Linked DNA regions of Homo sapiens: region 1 is linked to region 2. The links are contacts of gene promoters, found by promoter capture Hi-C in blood cells and fetal thymus (Javierre and others, 2016). All regions are on one chromosome and are shown on one strand. Each heading gives the region's core, a stretch centred on a gene start or on the middle of the fragment in contact. The rest is flanking DNA. Distances are from core to core; before and after follow the strand shown. Region 1 overlaps BTBD2 (BTB domain containing 2). Region 2 holds the start of AMH (anti-Mullerian hormone).

Region 1 (6,429 bases), core at 1-2,500, 260 kb after region 2:
TCCACCTCCATGGAACCCTGGCTGAACCCCCGGCCCTGGTCCCTGTGCTGCCCCCACCCTGGGCAGGTGGGCTGGGCCTCGAGGGGTCCCCGTTGGCCCTCCCCAGGCCTGAGCCTCCCACTTCCCACCTCCCCGCAGATTATTCACACCGATAGCAACACCGTCTTGGGCCAGAACGACACGGGCTTCAGCTGCGACGGCTCAGCCAGCACCTTCCGCGTCATGTTCAAGGAGCCGGTGGAGGTGCTGCCCAACGTCAACTACACGGCCTGTGCCACGCTCAAGGTGCGCCGCCGGGGACAGGGGTCCCTCCGTGGGAGTCTCTGGCCCATCCTGAAGCCACCGGGGCACAGCACACACTCTCCAGAGGCAGCCACCCTGGCCCAGTCGGGGCCTTGCCCTGTCCACACCTGGGGCATCCCAGCCTGGTGGTCCTTGACCTCACTGTACCCCTATTCCCTACAGGGCCCAGACTCCCACTACGGCACCAAAGGCCTGCGCAAGGTGACACACGAGTCGCCCACCACGGGCGCCAAGACCTGCTTCACCTTTTGCTACGCGGCCGGGAACAACAATGGCACATCCGTGGAGGACGGCCAGATCCCCGAGGTCATCTTCTACACCTAGGCTGCCCGACACCGACACCGCCCTCCCTCCGTGGGGATAGCCGCAGCCCCAGGCCATCATCTGCTGCTGGGGCCCCCCCACCACGCGGTGCCAGGCCCAGTGTCCCCCAGGCCGTCTGTCCACTCCATGCCACCTTTCTCAGCATCAGGACGGGGTTGCCCTGTGTTCACCACGAGTGTGGCTGCTGGATCAGGGCAGCCGGGGAGGTGGCCAGGCCAGTGGCCAGGCCCTGTGGAGACAATCCCTCAGGACTAGGGACAGGGCTGTGCCGGCCTGGGCCAGGGCCCACGGACCCGCAGCTCAGGGCGCCTGCCCACGTCGTCTGCCGGCGGTGCGCCGCGGGCGTCCCTCGCGTCTCTTCACTGCACATTGCAATGCATTTGCGATTCCCATTTCTCTGCTAGGAGCCAGCCTGGGTGGCGCTGCTCCCAGAGCCGTGGGTCCCAGACCTTGCGTTCCTTTTGTTCCTGTCCGTTTATCAGGACACGGGCCCCACCTGTCACGTGCCCGAGGCCACCCAAGCCCAGCCTGCGGGGCGTTCCCACTGCCTGGATGCCGGCTTGAGTTCTGCGCACGCAGGATTCAGTGTGGGGACGGCCCCTGCCGGATAGGCCTAGCCCTGGCCCAGGTGGTGAGCGGTTTGCAGTGTCCGTTCTCATCCACCTGATGGGCCCAGATAAAGGCCCCCGCTGTCCAGCCTCCCTGGACGGCCCTCGCGGTCCCTGCAGCCCAAGATGGGACTCAGACCCTGTGCCCCAGAGCTCCCCTGCCGCAGAATGGGGCCCCAGCCGGCCCCGACCGGGTCCAGGAGCACTGCTCGCCTGTACATACTGTTGCCCTAGCCCACCTGGTGCCGTGGGAGCCACCCCCAGGTGCTGGGGGCACAGCCCCTCCCCACTCCGGCCACGCCCCCACCCACCCCGCGTGTTTCTGCCCTGTGACTCCTGGAACCTGCGTCCTCCCCAAAGCCATGGGAGGGGTGTCCTCCTCAGACCATGCCCCCAGATGATTTTTTTAAATAAAGAAACAAATGCACCTGCCTTGAGCGCACACTGCTTTGCTCCCCTTCACTCTCTGCCCTGTCATCCGGGCTGCAGTGGGCGAGGGATGTCGTGCGCCGAGAGGGGCCCTGAACCCCGGGTCTGGTCGCCAGTGCTGCGAGACCCTCCTTAAGTACCCACAGGCCACACTGAAGCCCGGGAGGTCGAGACTGCAGTGAGCAGTGATGCACCACTGCCCTCCCCCCTGGGCAAGAGCAAGACCCTAACTAACTCAACACCTCCCCCCAAACCCAAATGCAATGGACGTGTGTGCCGATTTCCCCGTGGGGAGGCCCTGCTGGCTGCTGGGGGACCGTGGATGTGAGAGATGGAGAGAAAGCAGGGAGTGCCCAGTTGTGGCCTCAGTGGCCAGAGAAGTCAAGCCGTTGGCTGCTGCCTCAGGAGCACACGTGCAGGGCAAGACATCAAGAAACCCGGCAGCAAGGCCGCGTGGTGGCTCACACGTCATTACAGCACCTTGGGAGGCCGGGCGGGTGGATCACCTGAGGTCAGGAGTTCAGGACCAACCTGGCCGACATGGTGAAACCCCATCTCTACTAAAAACACAAAAATTAGCCAGGTATGGTGGCAGGCACCTGTAATCCCAGCTACTTGGGAGGCTGAGGCAGGCGAATCGCTTGAACCTGGGAGATGGAGGTTGCAGTGAGCCAAGATGGTGCCATTGCACTCCAGCCTGGGCGAGAAAGCAAGACTCCGTCTAAAAAAAAAAAAGCCAGCCGCAAACAGTTGCCAGGAGGCTGAAGGCTGAGCAGATCTCCACAGTGCGCAGTGCTGGGAGCAGGCAATGGAGATGGAGGCTGGCGGGGTAGGGGGCCTTGTCGAACACCCTGGGGGCCGGGCGTGCTGGCTCACACCTGCAATCCCAGCACTTTGGCAGGCTGAGGCAGAACTGCTAGGGGCCAGGAGTTTGAGACCAGCCTGGGCAACACAGCAAGACCCCATCTCTAAAAAAATACATATTAAAAGGAAACACCTTGGGCTTCTAATGAAGACACCAGAAGGGCCACCCACCAGGAGCTAGGGCAACACTCCTGTGGGGAGGACAGAACGGAAGCCGTCATCACTCCAAAACAAAACCCTGGTAGGGTCTCACTGGGCTGCTGTTACGCTGGACCCTGCCAAAAGAAAACACAGCCCTGTGAAGAAACATCAGCACCAGCTTCTACCATCTGTCATTTACAACGTCCAGCATCCATTTAAAAATGACAGGCTGGGCGTGGTGGCTCATGCCTGCAATCCCAGCACTTTGGGAGGCCGAGGCAGGTGGATCATCTGAGGTCAGGAGTTCGAGACCAGCCTGGCCAACATGGCGAAACCCGTCTCCACTAAAAATACAAAAATTAGCGAGGCGTGGTGGCGTGCATCTGTAATCCCAGCTACTTGGGAGGCTGAGGCAGGAGAATCACTTGAACCTGGGAGGCAGAGGTTGCAGTAAGCCACGATTGTGCCACTGCACTCCAGCCCAGGGAGACAGAGCAAGACTGTCTCAAAAAAAAAAAAAAAAAAAAAAAAAGCCAGGTATGGTGGCTCATGCCTGTAATCCCAGCACTTTGGGAGGCTGAGGCAGGCAGATCACGAGGTCAGGAGATCAAGACCATCCTGGCTAACATGATGAAACCCCGTCTCTACTAAAAAAAACTACAAAAATTAGCCAGGTGTGGTGACAGGTGCCTGTGGTCCCAGCTACTTGGGAGGCTGAGGCAGGAGAATGGCGTGAACCCGGGAGGTGGAGCTTGCCAGTGAGCCGAGATCTCGCCACTGCACTCCAGCCTGGGCAACACAGCAAGACTCTGTCTCAAAAAACAAACAAACAAACATGCAAGGTGAAGCACAGTGAGTAAAAACAATGGAAAAACAGAACAGATCGAGATACGTGACACAGCCAAAGGGTTGAACGTATGTGTAAGTGGAGTCCCAGAAGGAGAGAGAGAGAATGAGACTCAAGCTATATGACAGCCAAGAATTTTCCAAAATGAATGAAAGACGTTGACCCACAATTTTTTTTTTTTTTTTTTTTTTTTTTTTTTTGAGACAGAGTCTCTCTCTGTCACCCAGGCTGGAGTGCAGTGGTGCAATCTCGGCTCACTGCAAGCTCCGCCTCCCGGGTTCACGCCATTCTCCTGCCTCAGCCTCCCGAGGAGCTGGGCCTATAGGTGCCTGCCGCCACGCCCGGCTAATTTTTTGTATTTTTAGTAGAGATGGGGTCTCACCGTGTTGGCCAGGATGGTCTCGATCTCCTGACCTTGTGATCCACCAGCCTCGGCCTCCCAAAGTGCTGGGATTGCAGGCGTGAGCCGCCGCGTTTTAAAAACTTTGTCAGTGGAGCATGCTGGCTCATGCCTGTCATCCCAGCACTTTGGGAGGCCGAGGTGGGTGGATCACTTGAGGTCAGGAGTTCAAGACCAGCCTGGCCAACATGGTGAAACCCCGACTCTACTAAAAATACAAACATTATCCAGGTGTGGTGGCACACGCTTGTAATCCCAGCTACTCGGGAGGCTGAGGCAGGAGAACTGCTTGAACCCGGGAGGTGGAGGCTGCAGTGAGCCGAGACCACGCCAATGCACTCCAGCCTGGGTGACAGCGAGACTCTGTCCCAAACAAACACTTTGTCAACCTGGAATGCCACTACCAGCAAAAACATCCTTATTAAGAAAGGTGAAATAAATATTTTTTTCAGGGAACAAATGCTAATTTGTAATTTGTTACCGACAAAGCTGCACTCGGCCCGGCGTGGTGGCTCACGCCTCTCATCCCAGGGTCACTTTCCCACCTCGTCCTCCGCAAGTGCCTGGACAACAGAGCCAGACAGGCAACCCTATCTCTACCTAAAAACAAAACAGAACAAAACAATTAGCTGAGTGTGGTGGTGCACGTCTATGGTCCCAGATACTTGGGAGGCTGAGGTGGGAGGATCGCTTGAGCCCAAGAGGTGGAGGCTCCAGGGAGCTATGACTGTGCAACTGCACGCCAGCCTAGGCCAGGCCCTGTCTCAAAAAAAAAAAAAAAAAAGCTGCACTGTAAGAAATATTGAAGTTCTTCAGGCTGAAAATTATCCCAGAGGTAGTTTTGGGATTCTGTCGCCCGGGCTGGAGTGCGGTGGCGAGATCTGGGCTCACTGCAAGCTCCGCCTCCCGGGTTCACGCTATTCTCCTGCCTCAGCCTCCCCAGTAGCTAGGACTACAGGCGCCCGGCTAATTTTTTGTATTTTTAGTAGAGACAGGGTTTCACCATGTTAGCCAGGATGGTCTCGCACTCCTGACCTCGTGATCCGCCAGCCTCGGCCTCCCAAAGTGCTGGGATTACAGGAGTGAGCTACCCTGCCCGGTCCCAGATGTAATTTCTGATCAGCAGAAAGAAATGAAGAGCATCAGAAAAGGTTAACATGTGGGTAAATATATAAAGCACATGACAAGTAGTCCTTATCCCCAAGCTACTGCCGGGAAAACCATCGATGAGCTCATTCCATTTCCCTCTTGCCATCTGACTCTTACAGGTGCATTATTTCTGCTTTGTCACAACATATTACGGTGGTACTGGTCTTCCACCCTTGCTGCCGGGTATGGGGTGTTGTCTGGGGAGAAGGCACGGGGCGGAGCCGGGGCTAGTGCTGCCAAGGTCTTCACCTGCCTGCAGTTTCCGCTGTTCTTCTGGGAGCTACTGCTGATTCCCTTCACAGTGTCGTGGCCCCCGTGGAGATGTTTTCTGCCCTGCTGCGTGAACAGAGGGAGTCAAGGAGGCCTTCCGCCGTCAGAGCAGCCAGGACCATCCTGCCTGGGCCCCGTCGCTGAGGCTTTCAGGTATATTTGTGTAGTGTCGGGGAACGGGACCCCCGGGGCCAAGTCGCATGTGTGTGACTTCCCCTTTCCATGGTACGTGAACACTCGTCTCCTGCCCTCTCCCCAGACAGAGCCCAGCTCTGCCCTCTGCTTCCATCTTCCTTACCTTCCGCCTCATCAGTCGGTTTCTGTTACCGGAGGCCGCCAGCCGCTCCGGACTCGTCCCGGACAGGCAGGATGGGGATGGAAGCAACGCCCGTTCCAGGTCAAGCTTCGTGGAAAGCCCAGACAAATCCCTCTACACTTGGGTTTGGTTTCATTTTTCTTTTATTTTTTTAAAAAAGCCCCTAAATTCTATGGCTTCAAGGGAGCATCAGAGAAACGTAAATGCCATTTCTGTACACTTGGTAAAGCAAAAACTAGACTCACAGCCACCGCCCTGGGCACGGCCCCAAGCTGCTCCACTCTGCCCGGCAGCCTCCAGGGCACCCCACTGGGGAACCGCCCGCCAGTCCAGGGCCGCCCCCAGGCCCCTGCAATATACCTGCAGGGCTGGGCCGGGGGCTTTAAGGCGTTTTGTCTCCGGCTGCTTGCCGGGTGTCGGAGCAGAGAGGCAGGAAGCTCCGTGCCCACGCGCCCCACGCGGCAGGGCTGAGGGCCGAGCAGGGTGACACCAACCGGTCCTCCCACCTCGGGTTCCAGGCGCCGGGGCGCAGCCTCCGGGAGCAAGTGCGTCGAGAAGCACCCGCCTGGCAGCGCCCACCCGCCCCTTGCCAGGGCCAGGCTGGGAAGAGACTGCAGCAGCCGTGCCCGCGGCGCCCGAGCTTTGGTGCAGCATTTTGGTTGGGGAGCCGGCTTCAGCCACGGCCCCACCCCTGCCTTCCCCTTTGGTTTCGGGGAGGCCTGGGGCACGGCCTCACCCCTGGCAACAATGCCTGTCCCCCTCCCAGGAGGGCCTGGGC
Region 2 (6,435 bases), core at 1-2,500:
CTGGTTCTACGCTGTTCTCAGTACTGCAGACCCTGCAACAAATCCATGCCCCCCGCCACGGCCCGGGCACTGCCCCATGCAACTCCCTGGTACCTGGGCACCCGGCAGCCCAGCCCTCGTCACAGTGACCTCAGGGCCAGGCCCAGGGTACAGCACCAGCAGCGCCAGCTCTGGGGGGCCAGCTCCTCCAGGCGGGGGCTCCTGGAACCTCAGCGAGGGTGTTGGCTCCCAGGTCACTGCAGCCGGGACAGCAGGGGACGCCTGAGCCATTGAAGGCCACACCCCCCGGGAATCTTTGGGATCTGTCCCTGCCGCTCTGGCCACTGTGCAGGGGACCTCAAGCGGGGGACAAGGGTGCCCCTCTTAGCTGCCTTCCTGCAGCCAGGGAGCGGTGACGGCAGGGGCAGGCAGGGGCTGCGTCTGAGGCTGTGGGTGGGGCTGCCGCCCTGGGGTCTCTGGGTTGGGGTGCCCGATGAAGCCCCTTCCCCGCAGGGAGTATCTTAGGCCAGCGGCCCTGAGAACAGGCTGGGGCTGTGGGAAGAAGGGTTCCACTGGCCCCGAGCCCTGCGTCGTCTTCAGGGGTGGGGAGAAGGCAGCAGCTCTCTCCCTGGCACCGAGGCAGGGGCAAGTCTAAGAGCTGGGCTTCGGGGACAGGACAGAGTGTGGTGCCCACCTTCCAGGCCACGGACCCGCAACCCAGTCCTAGGAACAAGACCACAGCCTCCCTGCCCAGGGTGGGGGCTCTGCCAGCCCCTGATCTTCCCTAGGAGGACCCGGCCCACCTGAAGGAAGACGGCGGTGCCAAGCTTGGGGCTGGGCCCCACATACCTTCCTCCAGGTGTAGGACCACCAGGCGCTGCCCCCCAGGGTCCCGCAGCCAGGCCCCCAGCCGCCGTAGAGAGGGCAAGGCAGCCTGCCTGTCACCGGTGTTGCAGACCCCGAAGGTGGCCAGGTCTCGGGGGCCCCAGCGGGCCCTCTGCACGGCCCCCAGGAAGGCCTGCTCATAGGCGCTTAGAGCCCCCACCACCCGCAGGGGGGAGCTGCTGCCATTGCTGTCCCCGCCCAGTGCCACCAGGCACAGAGGCTCTTGTGGGCTGCCTGGAGGCCAGTCCAAGTCTTCTCGGAAGATGAGGCCACTGGTGCCCACAGCTGGCTCCTCTGCTCTGAGGGCCTCAGTCCCCAGCAGAGCCCCCAGGGCAGACAGCACTAGGGCCAGGCTGGTGAGAGGCAGGTCCCGCATCGTGGGTGCTGCCAGGGGCTGGGCTGCCTGCCTTAAGTGAGCCGAGTGGAAGGTGGGGTGTTTGTGCAGGACAGACCCCTATCTCCTCTGCCGCGACCTTGGGGGACAGTGCCCGGCGCCCCCACTCCAGGCAGAGTGGCCTTCTCAAAGAGCCCTTTCTGTCCCTGGCAGCCTATCTCCCTCCCCAGTGATAGAGCTGGGCCTGATGTGTCAACATGCCGTCCTTGAGGGCCATCCCCAGAAGACACAGGAGTGGGAACCAGGCTGGGAGTGACGGCCAGGCAACCAAACTAGACAGCGCTGGGGGCGGGGGGCCCAGATGTCCTGGGTGCTGAGGTGTGGGCCTGGAGGAGGAGGGTCCCAAGTCAGTGGGGGCGCCCTGTCCCTGCTCACCCTCCCCACCCCTGGTGGGCTATCTGGAGACCCCAAGGATATCGTGGAGTCTGCTCTTCCCTCCCCAGAACAGGACCCCAGATCCCCTCCTAGCTGGCTGGTGGGGTCTGTCCTCCACCAGGCCATCTCCAAGGTACAGCCATCTCTCAGGCCTCCCACAGGTGTCTCCTGGCGGGCCCCAGGCCCTCCCCAGTCGGCCCAAACTGGGGGATGGTGCTGTGCCTGGCACTCCCACACACACTGACACAGTAGGGCGGCGCTGCGGACATCAGTGCACTCAGGGCTGGGGGAGGCTGTTTAATGAGCGGGGGGCAGTACAAAAGAGCAGCCTTCTCTCAGTGGGAAAAGGCAAGAGCACCTGGCGCTGGGCTTGCTGGGGGAGGGAGCAGCTTCTCAGTTGGTTGGGGGAGGGGGAGGTATGTTCCCTGGGCCTTCGGAGGGAAGTGGGGGCCTCAGCATTGGGGGCATGGGAGTTGGGGGGTGCACCCCAGGATTTGAGGGGTGAACTCCCGGAGGCTGAGGGTGGACCCCAGGAGCCGACGGATGGACCCCGGGAGGTTGGGGGTGGACCCCCGGGGCCTGAGGGTGCATCCCTGGGGCTGGTGGGTGCACCCCTGGGGCCTGAGGGTGAACGGCGGGGGCTGCTGGGTGCACCCCCGGGGCCTGGGGGTGAACCCCCGCTGATGGGGGAGGATGGACCCCTGGGGCTGGTGGGTGAACCCCAGGGGCTGGTGGGTGGACTCCGGGGGCTGGTGGGTGAACCCCGGGGGCTGGAGGGTGGACTCCAGGAGCTGGGGGGTGGACCCCAGAGGTTGGTGGGTGGACCCCAGGGGCTGGGGGATGGACGCCAGGAGCTGGGGGGTGGACGCCAGGAGCTGGGGGATGGACCCCAGATGCAGGGGGATGCACCACTGGGGCCGGGGGGTGGACCCCTGGAGCTGGCGGGGGTAGCTGGGGTGGTCCCGGGGGCCCTGAGGGCGCAGGCCCTGTGGGGGGCATGGGTGGCAGAGGCAGGCCTCCTGGCGGGGGCGGTGGCAAAGACTCAGGCAGCGGTGGCCGAGGGGGCAGACCGTTCATCAGCGGGGGTGGAGGCCGCTTCACCCCAGGGGGGCCAGCAGGGAGGCTGGGTGGAGCCGGGGGCTTCTCCATCTTAAAGTGGAACTGGAGGAAGAACTAGAGAGACGGAGAAAGGTTCAGCAGGCACGGGTGGGGCTAGGGCAGGGCTAGGGCCGCCAGGGCTGGGTGGGAAGGAGCCAGGCTCGGGGCGAGCCACTCACCTGCTTGGTCTCCCGGTTCCAGTGTGTCCAGAACTTGCCCTCCGCCTTGTCGATCTCTCTGCTCGGCACCTGGGAGGGCGGGGGACAGAGAGGGCTCCTGGTCCCTGTGACCTCAGGGCGACCATCAGGCAGGGAGCCCGAGGCACTAGCCTCCCCAGCCCGGACTCTACCCTGGGAGCCCAGGAGAAGGCTGGTAAGACTTTCGTGGGGCACAGGGTTCAGTTCTGGAGTGAAACAGACCTGGCCTCAATGCTAGCACGCTGTTGGCCCCCTCCCTGGGCAGTCACCGTTTGTATTATTTGTTTCCTGATGGCCGCCCTGTCCAGGCATGGGGACAGGCTGTAGGAAGCCCTCCAGCAGCCTGGCCCAGGAAGTGAGGTCACTTGGCAAAGGCCTCACAGGCCTGGCGCTCAGCCCTGCCGGCCTCCCTTCTCATTGGCCCAGTGGAGCCCAAGCAGGCCCTCCTGCAGAGCCCAATGGGAGAGGTGCCCTGCCCGGCCTGTGCAGACCCTTCTGGCTCCGACTTGGGGGGGGCCCAGGGGACCCCAAGCCCGATGGGAGGGGCATCCTGCCCAGCCTATGCAGATCCTTCTGGCTTGCACATCTCAAGGGGGCCCAGGGAACCCCGCAGCCACGCTACCTTGAAGGCAATGGTCTCGTAGGGCTCGGCGGCCATGAGCAGGTACTGCCAGCGCCGGTCCGGAGGCTCGATCCTCTGCTCGTACGCAGACATGAAGCGGTGACGTGGCATGATGCCCTCGGCGATCTCAGGGTAGTCAATCTGCAGGGACACGGCCGGGTGGCAGAGCCGCCTCTTGGGTGCCTTTGGCCGCCCCCCACGCCCAAGTCCCTGATCTCACCTGGAAGAGGAGGCTCTGCTGGCCCATCTCCGAGTCTCTCTGCTTGGTCACTGCAACACAGAAAGCTCTCAGGTCCCGGCTGCTTGTCCTCTCCGAAGCTGAGGAACCTGGGGCAGGCTAATGCCACCCACTGAACGAGAGCGGGACCCCGGGGGAGGCCCTGCAGCTCTGGCAACCATTAGACAATCTCCGCCCAGGCTCTGGGATTCTGGTATAGGTGAAGGCACAGGTGCGCCAGAGCTGAGCTACCTGCGGAGTCACTCAGGCAGGGACCGAGGATGGTGCTCCTTTGTCCCAATCCCCAGAGCCCTTCACCAGGGGTGCTGGGATACCACCCAGCAGGAGTTGGGGCCACTGGGTAGGGAGGGGCCCTCGGCACCCTGGCTCTGGGATTCGAGCGGGGCCGCCTGAACAGGGCTGACACCATGTATACGGTGAGCGAGAGAGGATGCCCTTCCCGCCAGAGCTCAGCAGCCTGGACCCCGAGAATGGCTGCTGGGCTGCCTGCCGCCCGGCCACTCTCCATGCGGCCTCAGACACGCACACTCACAAGCCCTCTGCCGCCTCACCGTCCTGAGCCCAAGCCCAGGACCTGTCAGGGCCTCCCCACCAGGAGCCTGCCGCTCTAGCCACCCTCGCCCACCCGGTGCACCTGCCCCGGGACCTCTGCCCTGCAGGCTTCTGTCTGGAGGCCAGGCACACAGGCTGTCCCCGCCTTCTGTAAAGAACACTTGCTGGGTAGCGTGCCCGCCTTCCTGAACCCTATGGACACAAGTCTCTATCTTCCACCCTGGTCACTTCCCCAGCTTTCTGAACCGGGGTCACCTCTAGCCATTCCCACTGCTGAGGGTCCGGGAGGAGCTGCCTCTAACAGCCGCTTCTCCCTGTCCTCCTTCAAAGGCTTCAAGGTTAACCGGAGGGATGTGCCAGGGCTCACCACACCTCCACTTCCACTCTTTTGCTTGGCAAGAATTCCCAGAAGCTTCCACAAGACCCGGACAGGAGGGCACAGACTGTGGCTCAGCTGGGAAATGGGCTGCTGGGTGAGATGGGTGCTTATCGGGCCCAGCCTGACAGCTCCCAGACACAACGCCAGAGGCTGCAGGTGGGTGAGGGACGGCCACCAAGGCCGGAAAACAGTGGCTCAGGGAGGAGGCTATCAGGGCTGCACCTCCCGCACTGGAGACTAAAGAACACACTTATGTCACGGCAGCGGCTGTGGCCGGCCCCGCTGCGGGCAGACTCACCTTTGTAGCCCGGGCGGCCGATCTTCACAAACTTCTTCACCTCCACCTTGACCTTCTCAGGCGCGGGCTGGGCAGGGGCCTCCTTGGCCTCCTTGGCTGCTCGCCGGGCCCTGCGGACAGGATGGAGGTGCTGCTGGGACCCCTCCACACACAGGCACCAAAGCCATGGGCCCAGGTGCCAGGAGCCCCCTGACCTTGGAGCTCACTACAAGCTGAGAGATGAGGAGGGCCAGGGGCCTGGGAGGGGCCCTGGGGTTTGGCTGAGGACAGGGATAGGACAGGCATGTTCTCTTCCTGTCATGCTCCTCACTGTCCCTGGCTGGGGCCCTTCCAACAACTCCATGCCTCTGCTCTTTTTTTTTTTTTTTAATAAGACAAGAGTCTCACTCTGTCGCCCAGGATGGAGTACAGTGGCAGCACCTTGGTTCACTGCAATCTCTGCCTCCCAGATTCAAGATTCTCCTGCCTCAGCCTCCATAGTAGCTGTGATTACAGACGTGTGCCACCATGCCTGGCCTAATTTTTGTATTTTTAGTAGAGATGGAGTTTCACAATGTTGGCCAGGCTGGTCTCGAACTCCTGACCTCAAGTGATCTGCCCGCCTCAGCCATCCATGCCTCTGTTCTCTAATGCTCCCCAGGAACCGTACTCAAGCGCCCAGGGAGGCTCAGGCCAGGCTGGCTCCCCGGCTGTGGAGCAGTGGCCCGCGAGGCTCACAGAGACTTGAGCCAACGGCTGCTGGAGCACCAGGCATCAAAGGGACATGAGGTACTCACAGGTTGGTCTGGTGCTTCTTCCCCTGCGTATGTGCCAGGTAGCTCCCCTGGAGTGGAAAGGAAACACGCATGACTCGAGGCCGGGCGGACAGACACAGGCAGGTCCCCCTGACGTCAGCCACTCAGCCCGCCGCGAGCCGCCCGGAGCCAGGCAGAGGCCGCACCTCATTGTTGTGAAGTGTCAGGCAGAGTTTGCATTCATAGGAGCCCAGGTGGTTCTTCATGAAGTACGGGTCCTGGAGGGGAAGAACAGGGGCCCGTTAGACAGAAGATCGCGGCCTGCTGCCGTCAAGGCCCTCAGAGGCGGGATCCCCTTTCTGTAGAGGCATGGAGGCAGAACCCCCCTTCTGTAGAGGCATGGCTACCGCTGACAGTGGTCAAGCATTTCTGAAAACGGGGGATCCAGCGGGAGGCCTTCGTGAGCACGGGTGTCACCACCTGGGGCTGTGGGCCAGGCTTCGAGCAGTGGGGGTTCCCAGGGAGCCCCCGACACCACCTTCCTGGTGGTTCTGAGTCAGAGGGAGGCACAGCCAGGACAGCACCGCCGGTCACTCCCGAGGCAGGGAGCCGTCCACTGCCCACGCCACCACGCCAGCAGTAGGCACAAGGCAGACACAGGCACAAGAAAAGCAAATGGGCTAC

The links. Contacts are between HindIII fragments. The CHiCAGO score rates a contact against its expected background, and 5 or more counts as called.
Region 1: a fragment that was not itself captured here is called in contact with the fragment with the promoter of AMH in region 2 in 1 of 17 cell types (neutrophils); the score reaches 6.1 in neutrophils.

Annotation. Positions count from the first base shown.
Region 1 is chr19:1,980,686-1,987,114 of GRCh38, reverse strand. It overlaps BTBD2 (BTB domain containing 2), which reads left to right. Exons shown (of 9, transcript NM_017797.4): 8 at 139-285; 9 at 466-1,667. The coding sequence ends at 627. It overlaps CSNK1G2 (casein kinase 1 gamma 2), which reads right to left. Exons shown (of 12, transcript NM_001319.7): 12 at 5,777-6,429. Among named protein-coding and RNA genes, the nearest start is that of CSNK1G2-AS1, 29 kb to the right of the region's middle. The HindIII fragment of the contact is 8,980 bases long and covers 1-5,740 here.
Region 2 is chr19:2,244,138-2,250,572 of GRCh38, reverse strand. AMH (anti-Mullerian hormone) reads right to left here and starts at 1,250. Exons shown (of 5, transcript NM_000479.5): 1 at 829-1,250; 2 at 94-236. The coding sequence starts at 1,240. SF3A2 (splicing factor 3a subunit 2) reads right to left here. Exons shown (of 9, transcript NM_007165.5): 3 at 5,958-6,029; 4 at 5,794-5,840; 5 at 5,018-5,127; 6 at 3,771-3,820; 7 at 3,551-3,691; 8 at 2,911-2,979; 9 at 1,918-2,806. The coding sequence ends at 2,027. RefSeq lists promoters at 1,241-1,272, 1,241-1,450, 1,241-1,520, 1,272-3,306, 1,241-4,239 and enhancers at 1,168-1,307, 3,362-3,863, 3,162-4,239, 4,493-4,993. The HindIII fragment of the contact is 3,946 bases long and covers 809-4,754 here.